Linked DNA regions of Homo sapiens: region 2 is linked to region 1. Evidence: promoter capture Hi-C in 16 types of primary human blood cells and fetal thymus (Javierre and others, 2016). All regions are on one chromosome and are shown on one strand. The core of a region is centred on a gene start or on the middle of the fragment in contact, and the rest is flanking DNA. Distances in the headings are between cores, read along the strand shown. Region 1 holds the start of C4BPA (complement component 4 binding protein alpha). Region 2 overlaps LOC107985251 (a long non-coding RNA gene).

The links. The method cuts DNA at HindIII sites, captures the fragments that hold promoters and counts their contacts. A CHiCAGO score of 5 or more calls a contact.
Region 2: a contact is called between a fragment that was not itself captured here and the fragment with the promoter of C4BPA in region 1, in 5 of 17 cell types (M2 macrophages, neutrophils, monocytes and 2 more). The highest score is 7.3, in M2 macrophages.

What each region holds. Positions count from the first base shown.
Region 1 is chr1:207,099,328-207,106,225 of GRCh38, forward strand. It overlaps C4BPA (complement component 4 binding protein alpha), which reads left to right and starts at 4,906. Exons shown (of 12, transcript NM_000715.4): 1 at 4,906-5,103. C4BPB (complement component 4 binding protein beta) reads left to right here. Exons shown (of 7, transcript NM_001017365.3): 7 at 462-666. The coding sequence ends at 602. The HindIII fragment of the contact is 2,080 bases long and covers 3,051-5,130 here.
Region 2 is chr1:207,223,152-207,229,370 of GRCh38, forward strand. The region is part of intron 1 of LOC107985251 (a long non-coding RNA gene); the gene reads right to left. It also overlaps the pseudogene C4BPAP2. Among named protein-coding and RNA genes, the nearest start is that of LINC02942, 14 kb to the right of the region's middle. The HindIII fragment of the contact is 4,911 bases long and covers 1,762-6,219 here.

The DNA of each region.
Region 1 (6,898 bases), core at 3,656-6,155:
CAAAGCAGAGTGGCTATAAATACAGCTGAAGCTTTGCTTGCCTGCCCGCTGCTCACTTTCTGCTGTGTGGCCCAGTTCCTAATAGTCCGTGGACCGGTACCGGTCTGTGGCCCTGGGGTTGGGGATCCCTGTTATAGAGCAAAGCACATAAGCACAATGCGTGAGAATTGGAAAAGTCTCTAAAATTCTTCTAGGCTCCAAAACTAAACAAACAACACTGAACAGATCCATTTTCATTGAGATTCTTCTTTTAGTTCATATTTATTACTGGGATAATATTAATAAGTATATTTAAGCCAGAAAATATAAATGATTTGCCATGTTGAAAACCCAAATCTTTACTTAAGCTAGCCTGGTTCTGAGCCCCCATTCAGAGAGCTAACTGCTGCTCACTGGCTTCAGAGTATATAGCTGGGTCTCAGTCCTTATGTTGTAACTTGTGAAAAATTTTCTTTCTTCAGCTTGCCTTTCAGGAGAGTAAGAACCTCTGCGAAGCCATGGAGAACTTTATGCAACAATTAAAGGAAAGTGGCATGACAATGGAGGAGCTAAAATATTCTCTGGAGCTGAAGAAAGCTGAGTTGAAGGCAAAATTGTTGTAACACTACAGCTGAGCAGATGTAATAGAAATAAACCTATGAATAAATTTTCTTCTTGGTTCTGAAATTGGTTTCAGATTTACCTCTTATTGGGCTGAAATTGCCAACAGCAGTTGTATAATGCACCATGTGTGTGTGTGTGTGTGTGTGTGTGTGTGTGTGTGTGTATGTGTGTGTGTGTGTGTGTGTGTGTTGTTCTCAGAATGTGAAAAGGCCAAATGTAGTGGTTGTCTAAGGCCAGAATTAGCAACATATTATTGGAGAATAGAGGGCTTAATTTCCAGTCTGTAAGGAGAATGGAAAACTCTGATCTCAGCCGAGAGAGTAACTCGTATTTTAACATGAGACCATGAATTATGAAACCAAAACTAACCGCAACTTATGAGGCAAAAATTAACCTTCCATTTTGGAAAAGATGCTTAGAATAGTTACATCCTTAAAAATGACCCACTGGGACAGAAGGAGAGCTAGGACCCAAATTCTCCTCCCAGTCTTGCCCACATCTGGCTTACGGAAACAGGTTTCCAAAGCTGCAGGAAAATTGCTTACTGCCTCTTGAATGAAACCTGGTCCTGCATGATAAATTAGAGATGGTGCAACACAAGTGAATATATTTCTTCTCTTTTTTAGAAACAAAAATTTTATATTATTTTTTACTTACAATTCTCCTTTTTTAGAGGGTAGAAGAAATAAGAATCCTAAGGCTTTCAATCAAAATGTCATACTGAGCTGGCATGACAAGCTTCTCCCACCTCTCGTCCTGACTGCTACCTGAAACACGTAGGATATCTAGATAAAGTGCAACCAAAATATATAAGCCAGCTTGAAATAATGGAAAATCGCTAGGTAAAGTTATGAAGGGGAATAAGAGATGGACTCTTGAGTACCCCAGAGTCTACTAATAGGCACAAGACATGTACACACGTAGCATTATTTTAGAGTGGTTAGAATGAACTAAACATTTTCAGACAACAGTGGGCTATGAGAGCTCAGATGAGAGGAGGTTCACTTCTGTCTGGGAGGAGGAGGCAGGAATATTGTCAAGGAAGAAGTCACAGTTATTTGGGCCTTCAAAAGTAAGTGAGAATTAGAGACAAAGATTAAAGAGCTCATTCCAGTTGGAAAGAATATTTGAGAAATGGAGTAAGACAATAATAAGATTTAAAACCAATTTTTTTTTTTGAGATGGAGTTTCGCTCTTGTTGCCCAGGCTAGAGTGCAATGGCGTGATCTCAGCTCACCACAACCTCTGCCTCCTGGGTTCAAGCGATTCTCCTGCCTCTGCCTCCTGAGTAGCTGGGATTACAGGCATGCGCCACCATGCCCGGCTAATTTTGTATTTTTAGTAGAGACGGGGTTTCCCTATGTTGGTCAGGCTGTCTCGAACTCCTGACCTCAGGTGATCTGCCCGCCTCGGCCTCCCAAAGTGCTGGGATTACAAGCATGAGCTACCACGCCTGGCCAATAATAAGATTTTTAACCAAGTAAATTCATTCCTAGGATTAATCTAACTGGAGGAAAATGATTTGAAATTGAAGCTACTTCTTATTTGTACATATTATCTATCTAGGAGGATCTTATGAGCATTTGAAATGTCTACTCTTAGGAAAATTTTGAATAAATTATGGTACTTTAAATGTAATGCAGACCTATATGGTGATAAATATGAGGAAGTAGAAAATCTTAAAAATACAATCTTAAGTAAAAATAGAATATTTAATAACAAGGGCTTATGATTGCATTTATGTAAAACCTTTATTCTTGTGGGAAAGGATTAGACAATAATAGGCACAGATAAAAACATTTGTCTTAGAATATGAAATTATAAGTGTTTATTCTCTTAAAACTTTTTAATGTTGTAAAATGAATTTCTAATAATAATTTTAGAAGGCATTGCACAGAGGCAGAAAAAATGGGATATGTTTAGGAACTTGCACATAGCCTGGACTGGCCTAGATGAAGCATGGAAATTGGTGAGAGAGAAGGTGGCTGGAAAGATAAGTCAAAGCCAGTTTATGGAGGCTTTTGAATGACGTGCTAGAGAATATACACTTGTTTTTGGTAGGCAGAGAATATACATTTGTTTTTTGGCAGTCAGACCATGAAGACATGGAAGCCTTGCAAACAATGAAGTAATAAGGACAGAACATAAAGAAAGATTTCTCTCACAATGTTGGTTGTAGTATTGGTTGATGAGGGAAAAGAACTAAGAGAAACCAACGAAAGGACTCCTACAATAGTCCATATGGGAGGCATTATCAACCTGAACTGGTTTGGTGGCAGCAGAAATGAAAAAGCAGCAGCAGACACGAGAGATATTGAAAACTTGTATCAAAACAACCTGTCAACTAATCAAACATTGAAGGGTGAGGGAGAGGAAGAGTTCAAAAGTGAATCTGAAATTTTATTCCCGAGAACCAGAGGTCAGAAAAAGCTGGGGTCAGAAAGTGAAGCTTGTTGGCCGGAAATGAGAAATTCCTCTTTGGATGTGCTGAGGGTGAAGTGCTTGCAAGATGTCCAGTGGGGGGAAAAAAAAAACAAAACCTAAGAAAGTAAGTCTTGAGTTTCGGAGAGTAATCAGAAATAATAATGTAGTGCTGGCTAGTCTTCTTACTGGTAATAGTTAAAGCTGTGACAGAAGGCAAGATCATTAAAATTGCGAAGATAATTTTTTTAAAAAAAGAAGAGCCTGAGATATATCTATATTTAGGAATGAGAAGGAGGAAGAGAAGGTAACAGTAACTAAGAAAGAGAAATTAGTTAAGTTAAGGGAATCAGGTAAGTTTAGTGTCATGGAAGCCAAAGGAGAAGAGAGTTTCAGAAAGGAAATGATCAGCAGTGACAAAGGCTGCAGACAGATCCTAAGAAATGAATTAAAGATATTTTGGACTTGGACCTAAGGGCGTGCCTCAGAGAGACATGTCAGTAGAAGAGTGGTAGAAGCCAGATGGGAAAGCAACAGGTGGAGTGATGAATGAGAAAGAACAGGCAGGTAGAACAAGTCACACCTTTGAGAAGTTCAGCATCACACTAAAGAAGAAAGGTGGAATTTGAGGTATTGGCAAAATTGAAGGGACATTTCAGGATGAGAGATGCATTGAAAATGAGGCAGGAAAAGAAGAAACAATTCTCCTCGGAATGAGGAGTGAATAGGAGGGAAAATTTGACATTGATGAAGCTAAGGTAGAATGATTTTTAGTAAAGTAGGAGGTAAGAGCATCTGCTGAGAGGGAATGTGACAATTTGGTGACCTGGAGAGAAAAATCTGCAAGAGTCACTGTGGAAAGTAAACGAAAGGACTTCAATACATTGGAAAACGGTACTTTAAAGAAATAGCAGCTTTAAAGGTGATATTTCTTCCAATTTAGTCTCAAGACTGTGCAATCTGGAATCCTCCTCTATCTTCATTCTGGTCAAATCAGTGTCTCACCTTGGTGACCTAGCGCATGGTTTCTTTACATCTAATATCCTTACCACTTTTATCTAATAATTTCTACCTTTTATCCAAATCTCACATCTTCTGTAGAAACTTCCTTGATTAACTCAACCTGTTGTAGTTTAGTTCCTTTTCTGAAACTCTTCTGGGACTTTCAGTATTTATTACAGAAAAAGTGAAGTTCTCAGAAAGAATTGCCTTTTAATAGCAATCTTCTGAGCACACAAATCTTAACCTTGAGGATTAGTAGCTTAATTGGACTATGTAAGTGCTTGTGGTCTTTTTAGATCTATGCGAGAGGAAACATGGCCGGTCCTTCATTGCGTTCTTCTGAGCGCACTGGATAGATCAATTTTTGGAGGCCCTCTGGTGCCTGACATGTAGTAGCAGTTAACATTTGCTGAACTCCAAATACGTTCTAGATAACTCAGCACATAGTGGAAACCCAATGCATGTTTGATAAATTCCCCACCTTTTGTAATTCCTTGGGGTGGGATAGAGACGAGCTCTGGGCAAGAATATCAGTTTTCAAACTCCAGGAAAGCATACTGGACCTAGTGTCATGGAAAGTGGATCATTTTTGCGGAGGCTCTCTGAACCTCGCAGTATCCAAGGTTTCCAGGCTAGCTGGACTGTGTCTTGCCATAACCCTTATGTGTTTATGAAAAGAAAAAAGAATTCTGGCTTCAAATTCAAATTACCTTTCCACTTAGGGGAAATGGTTGGCAGAGGAGAAAATAAACGATTGCGACATGTTACGAAGAATGAGGACTAGCAAAGAGGAAGGAGCTTAGGTAAACAGTGCTGCTTTATTTCTGCTGTTAATCATTCATTGGGCCCGTCAAAAGTTTCTGCCCATCTATTTCCATCAACCGTCCTTGACCAGCCAACCACATGGCTGAAATTCAGGGACTCTTTGGTGGAGCAATTACCAGTCAACTTCAGGGTATTATGATAAACTCTGATCTGGGGAGGAACCAGGACTACATAGATCAAGGCAGTTTTCTTCTTTGAGAAACTATCCCAGATATCATCATAGAGTCTTCTGCTCTTCCTCAACTACCAAAGGTCGGTGGACTACTAAACCCTTGGGGAAGCTTGGAGGAAAGGCTGGTGGTTTGGCCCTTTAAGGAGTGCAGGATTAGAAGGATAAAACAGAGACAAAAGCTTGGAGGTGTTTTCAGCAGAAATCTTTTCAGGAGCACTGTATTAGGGGGATGTAAGACTTGAGACGTACTTTAAACCCTATCTGAACCTCAAGTTTTAAAAATTATAAATGGAGGAATAATATTGCATTCTAATAAAATAAGCTAAAGAAGAAGAGGTGTAAGGTGTTGCTCTTGTTACTGTATCTAAAAGACAGATGTGTTGGTTTGTTGATCTTTCACCACCTTCCCACATCAGAGTTGAGGCAAGGGGTCAATCAGACTTTTCAAAGGGTTCACAGGAAGCTTGCTTTTCTTAGTCTACATTCTGAAAACTGGGGCCATTTCTATTTTGAGATTTGATTAACCACTCCAAATCTCCTCCACCACTGACAGCAAAGATGTTTAGATTTGGTAATAAGGAGGACACTGGCCAGCCTCCAGTTGGTTTCTGAAGCTAGCAGTCTTAGTCGTCCTCATCTTCTTTACTTTCTGAATTTGACGATGCTGATAACCCTTCCTTCTTGAAATTCTCTTCTTCCTTGGTTGGCCAGGATACAGTACCATTCTGGTCCTCATTTTAATTCTTCAACCACTTGTCTCTTTGCTGATTCCTATTCTATCTCTAAATATGGTAACACCAAAAGAATAAAAAGTAGACTACAGAAGAGGCAGAAGCATCAAAGAAGGTTGGCATTAAGCTTAGAGATATGTTTGAATGTAGTATGAGCACAGAATAAAGGGGCTGATAGAAAAATAAAGAGATTTGGCCAGGTACGGTGGCTCACTCCTGTAATCCCAGCACTTTGGGAGGCCGAGGCTGGCGGATCACCTGAGGTCGGGAGTTCGAGACCAGCCTGACCAACATGGAGAACCCCTGTCTCTACTAAAATTACAAAATTAGCCAGGCATGGTGGCACATGTCTGTAATCCCAGCTACTTGGGAGGCTGAGGCAGGAGGATCATTTGAACCAGGGAGGCAGAGGTTGGGGTGAGCTGAGATCGTGCCATTGCACTCTAGTCTGGGCAACAAGAGTGAAACTCCACCTCAAAAAAAAAAAAAAAAGAAAAAAAAAAGAGATTCTAGGAAGGGTGGGGAAAGTGTGGGAGCCAGTTCTTTCTGGAGTTTGTAAGTGATATAATTGAGAGCCCAGGTATAAGGAAGAAGACACTCAGCCCGAGACTGGAGAAAAATACTATCCTTTCACAAGGTATCTGCATTTTAAAAGGGGGAAGTTAGACAAAATAAATATTAACTTAAAAAGTAACTTCTCATGGAAGGAGAAATTTGAGGACTAAAGATTTTTCCAGTGACTCTCAAATTGCACTGCATTGCTAAGTGCTGATATTATTTTTCACAAGGGACCCGCCATGCTGACTAAAGTTCTTGAGTTGGTTCCATTTCTGCAGGAATTTAAAAGGTGAAGTCCTTGAAATATGAAAGTTGGCTAGAGTAGTCTCAGCTTTTCAGTGAGCAGTTACAGAATTGCAGAATTTGTTCATCTAGGTTTAATGTCATTATTTTAGAGATGGAGGGAACTGATATCCAAGAAGCTGATATAGCTTCTTCAAGATCACAGACTTAGACTGTGGTATTGCTGGAACTCCAACTTGTGTCTTCTCAGCTCGCAAGTTCTAGCCTCCATTCCCATACTCTGTGGCCAGCTGGTTTCTGCTGAGGGACCACCAGGAGTAGTTATGGTGAACTGCAAATGCCG
Region 2 (6,219 bases), core at 2,967-5,466, 120 kb after region 1:
ATTAGGCTTTTTCAGTGGGCTCCTTAGAGTCCCTCTCTCAATGTGAAGGAAAAGTGCACCCACACATTTTCCTCATGCAAGTGATGGAATGGGGCTCACAGGAAAACAAATGCTTCACTACAAAAAAAATCCTTCCCAAATATCCTTAAAATATCTTCCGTTTCTGTCATTTCAATGTTTTTTATTCAGGTGAGGGAGATAAGAGCTTTCTAACCGGTTATGAGTCACCTACTTCATCAGTGAGAGAGGGTTACTTGACTTTGCAAATAACAAGAATATTGTTTTTCAGCCAAAACTTCCATTTTACAGCCTTTTACACCTCTGAAGCTGCCACATAAAGTACTTACCTAATGCTTTCTATAGAGAGCAGAAAATAGTAGTATTCTAAGAAGGAGCAGTGGGTTTTGAACTGATAGAAGCCTGAGTTTAATCCCTAAGTTTCATTCATGTCACTGGCACTTAGTAACTGTGATCTTATGCAGAATAACTGACCTCTCTAAGGTTGTGTTTCCTTTTCTGTAGAATAAATATATGATAAACATATATAAAATGCAAGTGGCTAAGAACTCAAAATATCATTCCTATTGAGAGCCATAGGCAACCACAGGCAGGAATGATCACCGCGTGCCAGGATTGCATGTGGAGAAAGGTAGAGAGCATTGTAGTAGGGCAAATGGCAGAAGAAAAGGCACAGAAGTGAGAATGCACATGGCTTAATAGGAGAACACTGAACCGGTGAGAGTGCCTGAGAACAGTGCACACATGAAGGAGTAGTTCTTGGTGAGGATGGAGTCCATGAGAAAGGAGCCAGCAGTTTTAATTTGCTTTTTAGCAAATAAGTTGGAAACAGCTTTAACTTAGATTCAGTCCTTACAGGAACTCTTCCCTTAGTGTGGTGCTTTATCAACATACTCAAAGCTCTAAATTTATTAAATTGCACTAAATCTTGTCTGCAAAACTTTTGGCACTATAGATCATTCCTTTACTGACAGGCTAACTCAACAACTCAACATTGCATCTTTCTTTCTTTCTCTCTCTCTCTCTCTCTCTTTCTTTCTTTTTTTTTTTTGAGGTGGAGCCTTGCTCTGTTGCCCAGGCTGGAGTGCAGTGGCATGATCTTGGCTCACTACAACCTCCACCTCCCAGGTTCAAGCGATTCTCATGCCTCAGTCTCTTGAGTAGCAGGATTATGGGCATGCTCCACCACACTAATTTTTGTATTTTTAGTAGAGACGGGGTTTTGCCATGTTGGTCATGCTGGTCTGGAACTCCTGACCTCAAGTGATCTGCCCACCTCAACTTCCCAAAGTGCTCTTTGCATATTTCTTACTTCCAAATATGCCATTGTTTTGCATTGTTTCAACAAACCTCTCTCCAAAAATTGCAAAATGATAAAACATTCTCTTTGTGGAGGGGGTGGTAGTTGGAAGAGGTGGGGGGACTCAACCGGATTCATTCACTCTTTAACCATTTTCAAAGATAATCAACTCTTTTTTAAAAAGCTTATTAGAATATAATACACATATAGAAAAGTATACAAAGTGAAAATGTACAGCAACATGATTCATCAAAAATCAAACACTTAATGAAAATGTCACCCAGGTAGAGATGTAGGACATTGCCAGCCCCCAGAAGTCCCATGGGGGCCCTCCCATTTACTACTTCATCCTTCTTCAAATGTAACCATCATCCTGATTTGCAGAGTAATCATTTCTTTATTTTATTTATACTTGTTCTGTAGCTTAGTTTTGCATTTTTAAAAGCTTTAATAATGGAATAGAATTATACATTAATGGTCTGTCTGCTTTTGCTCAATGTATTTGTGAGATTCACCCATTTTTTTGTAAATAGTATCTCATTCATTTTTATTGCTGTCTAGTACTCCATCAGTTGAATGTACCATAATTTACTTATCTGTTCTAGAGTTGATGGATTTTTAGGCTCTTTCATGTTTGGTCACATTACAAATAATGTTGCTGAAAACATTTCTGAGCTTGTCTTTTAGTGCACATGTTTGTGTATTTCTGCCAAGAAAATATCCATGATTGTAATTGCCAGGTTCTAGGACATAACCACAAACTGTTTTTGGAAGTGGCTGTACCAATTTATATTTCCTTAGGTAGTTCATTGGAGTTCCATTGTGTCCTACTCATGAAAACTTTGGTATTATCATAGTTTTCAATTGTAGACATTCTGGTGAGTGTGTAGTGATTTCTCATTGTGGCTTTTATTTGTATTTCCTGATGACCCATGTGATTAAGCACCTATTAATATGTCTGTTGACAATCTGTATAGCCCCTCTATAGGAACATCTATTCAAGTCTCTCAGCTGTTTTTAAATTGCACTGTCTGCTTTTTGAAAATTAATTTGTGGCCTTTCTTTTTATTTAACCTCATGATTACTGAATATGATTCTGTTTTGGAGTAACTCCCTGTGGCTAAATTAATGCTTTTGTACCCAGAAGTTCATGAACAGTGTAAAAGTTTACTGATTTTGTCAAGGAGACGAAATGTACATCAGCAGTACAATAAGTTAATGACCTAGTTCTGCATAACGAGAAGGGTCGCTCACTGAATTGTTCATTAAATGAAACTCTAGCTCATTCTCCTCTACCTTCTCTCTCACCATTCAAGTTTGCAGAATGGTTCCTCCCATTGGCCATGGGTCCTATGAAGATGTGAGATCATTTTTTATTCTCTACTACTCTGGTGCACTGTCACTGTGATGATGGATATGTTCTAATTGGAGAGGCTGAAGTCACCTGCAGAAATTCACATTGGTCAGCTCCAGCCCCTCAATGTAAAGGTTAACTCCAAACTTACTGAGGGCCCTTGCTAAGAAGGTAGAGCCTCTATGAAAGGTCAAACAAGAGTCTCCTCCTAGACAGAGGCAGCACTTAGAAATTTACACTTTACTTATTTATTTAATTTGCATAATTAATATATACACATGGTACAATATTTTAATAGCATGAATGATCACAGTTTATCACTCTTGAACACTACTGTTATCAATGTATCTTTCAGAGGTCATCTGGAAGGCCACTTTTTGCTTGAATAAAAGTTTTGATTTAAATATAACATACTACAACACTGTGTCCAAATCTTAGGTGTACAGGTCAATAAATTATCACAAAGTGAACCCACCATGACAAACTACCACTCAAGTCAAGAAGCATCACCACTACCAGCATCCCAGAAGTGTTCCGTGTGCCCTCTCCTAGTGACTCCCCAACTTTCCTTCCCAATTAGTCTCACCTCTAGCATCACAGATTAGTTTTATCAACTTTTTAGCATTATATTTAGATTGGTGCAAAAGTCACTGCGGTTTTTGCCATTACTTTGAATATAAAGGAAATCATGTATGTATTCTTTTGTGCCTGCCTTCTTTACTCAGTATTATGTTTTTGAAAATCATCTATGTGTTCTTGCATGGGGTGATAGCTTATTCATTTTCATTGTTGTATAATCTTTGGATAAACATAACACATTTTATGTATCTTATAAAAGTTTAGGATTTTCATGTTATAGGCTATTATGAACAATGCTCTTATGAACATTCTTGCACATGACTCTTGATACAAATGTGCAAATATTTATGTTGGGAATAAACTTAAAAGTGGAATTGCTATTTCATAGAGTATGCATCTATTCATCTCTTTTTTTTTTTTTTTTTTTTTTTGAGACAAGTTCTCATTTTGTCACCCAGGCTGAAGTGTAGTGGCATGATTATAGCTCACTGTAACCTCCAACTCCTGGGTTCAAGGGATCTTCCTGCCTCAGCCTCCTGAGTAGCTGGGACTACAGGCATACACCACCATACCTGGCTAATTTTTAAAAAGTGTTTTGTAGAGATAGGGCCTTTCTTTGTTGCCCAGGCTGGTCTTGAACTCCTGGGCTCAAGTGATCCTCCTTTACCTGCCTTGTCCTCCCAAAGTGTGGGATTACAGCTGTGAGCCACCACACCCAGCCATATATTCATCTTTAGTAGATAATGCCAAATTTTGTTCAACGGTGATTGCAACAATTTAAATTTCCACAAGCAGTGTATGAGTGTTCTAATTTTGATAAATAGAAGTTCTAAATTCTAATTTAGTTCTATTTATAATTTTTTTCCTTGATGTTGGCACCTTTCATATCCTGTTTAAGAAATATTTGCCTACAGCAAGGTCACAAAAAATATTTCCTTATGTTATTTTCCAGAGCTTTATTGTTTTAACTTTTCACATTAGTATCTCCAAATCACTTGGAATTCCTGTGTGTTTATGGTGGAAAGTAGTGGTTAAAATTTGTTTTTCTCCAACGGCTGTTCAATTAATCATATAGCACTTATTTAATAAACTATACTTTCCACACAACTCTGCAGTGTGACCTTTGTTATAATTCAAGTGTCTGTATATACAGGGTTCTGTTAGTGGACTTAGAGATACAATTTTTAATTTGAGAGTATCAGTGAGGATTTGGCAAAATTTTAGTGGGCATCTACTTAAGTTTAAATGAGGAATCCTGTGGGTAAATTCCCAACATCTTTGAAGTATTCGATGTCTCCATTAGAAACCATGCATGCTCCCACCTTCTCATAATGAAGTTGACCTGATAGGAGATTTTTGGTCAACCACAAGGATAGGGTCAACCTTTTTTTTTTTTTTTAACTAATCTATTAATAGCAACTCAAGGAGCTAATTCCCCACACTGTCTCCATTTAACACAGCAAGATATTAAGAATATGAGAATAAAAATTATATACTTAGGACCATGAAAAGATCAAGGTTTGGAAATACTGTACTAATTTTGAAAACTCTGACTCTAGGACCGCAGTGACTAGGTTTACATCATAATCATGCCACCCAAAGGCTATGCAATATTAGACAAGTCACACAAACTATCTGTACCTAATTTTTCTCTTTAGCAAAATGGAGGTAATAATGTTTTGCATTAGTACTTACATTGACATATAGTATGTGCAATAACATTATTAGCATTATTATTAATCTTATTGTTATAATCATAAATAAATGGAGGTAAAGAACAACTCTCAGCATCCCATCCAGGTATAATTTATCAATGTTTCATAACTCTCAATATTCTTACTATTATAAGATCTTATTCTGAGAATCATAGGATGATCAAAATTGTGTTTCCATTATAGCTCTGTGTCTGAAACCAGAGACAGAAAATGGAAAGCTGTCTGGGTAAGGATCTGTATGTTGAACTTGAAAATGTCACCATCCAGTGTGACTCTGGCTATAAAGTGGTTGGTCCTCAAAATATCACTTTGGTTGGTCCTCAAAATATCACTTGATCAGAGCACAGAACATGGCAGGCACCCAGAGGTGCCCAGTTGTGAGTGGGTAAGTGGCACACATTTCAGGGCATCCTATCCCATTCTAAAAATGATAGTCTCCTCCAGAGCACTGTCCTAGCCAACACCAGCGAGATCTGACTTTTGGCAAGATTTATTTCGGGCACATCACTTACAGAATTAGCACCGTCACCTTTGAAGCACTTTGGTGTACTTGTTAAGGTAAGCTCAAGAAGGACCACACCCCTAGATAGGAAGGTCTCATAGATCCAGCTGACTTGACCCCCAGCCTCATACTTTCTATAATAAATGCTATGCTTTTGCTTCATTTCAGATGGGCCCATCAGAATTGTCCCTTCTGTCGCCCCTAACGAGGCCCCCTGGGTGTTGTCTGCAGCGTTGTTCCTTCCCTGCTTCACCAGCTACTGATTGCTGCCTGACGGCCGAGGGAGAATACTTTGCTGAGACCCTAGTTTCTTTGGGATTTTATTCATCTGTCCTGAGGAGGGTTTTGACATTCCGGTTTTGTGGTCATCAGTGATACATCCAGAAGAAATCTTACATATTCGGATTTCATTTGGAGAGAAGCCTCTCAAAAACTATCGCTTTATTTCATTTAGGTAATCTCTGAAGGTTGTGAGCAAGTGCTCACGGGTAGAAAGCTCATGCAGTGTCTCCCACACCCAGAGGATTCGAAAATGACCCTGGAGGTGTAAAAGCTGTCTCTGGAGATTAAACGACTGGAACACGTGTGAGACTTGAAGACGAACAATGCCAGTTAGAAACCAGTTAGGAAGGATTTTCCTTCCCTTTCCCCACAAAACAGAGAAGCAGTTATATTTCTCTCTTTAGCAATTCTGTGTTTCTCAAGTACTATTATTTACTGGGGAAAAATATCTGTGTTTAGGAGAATTCAC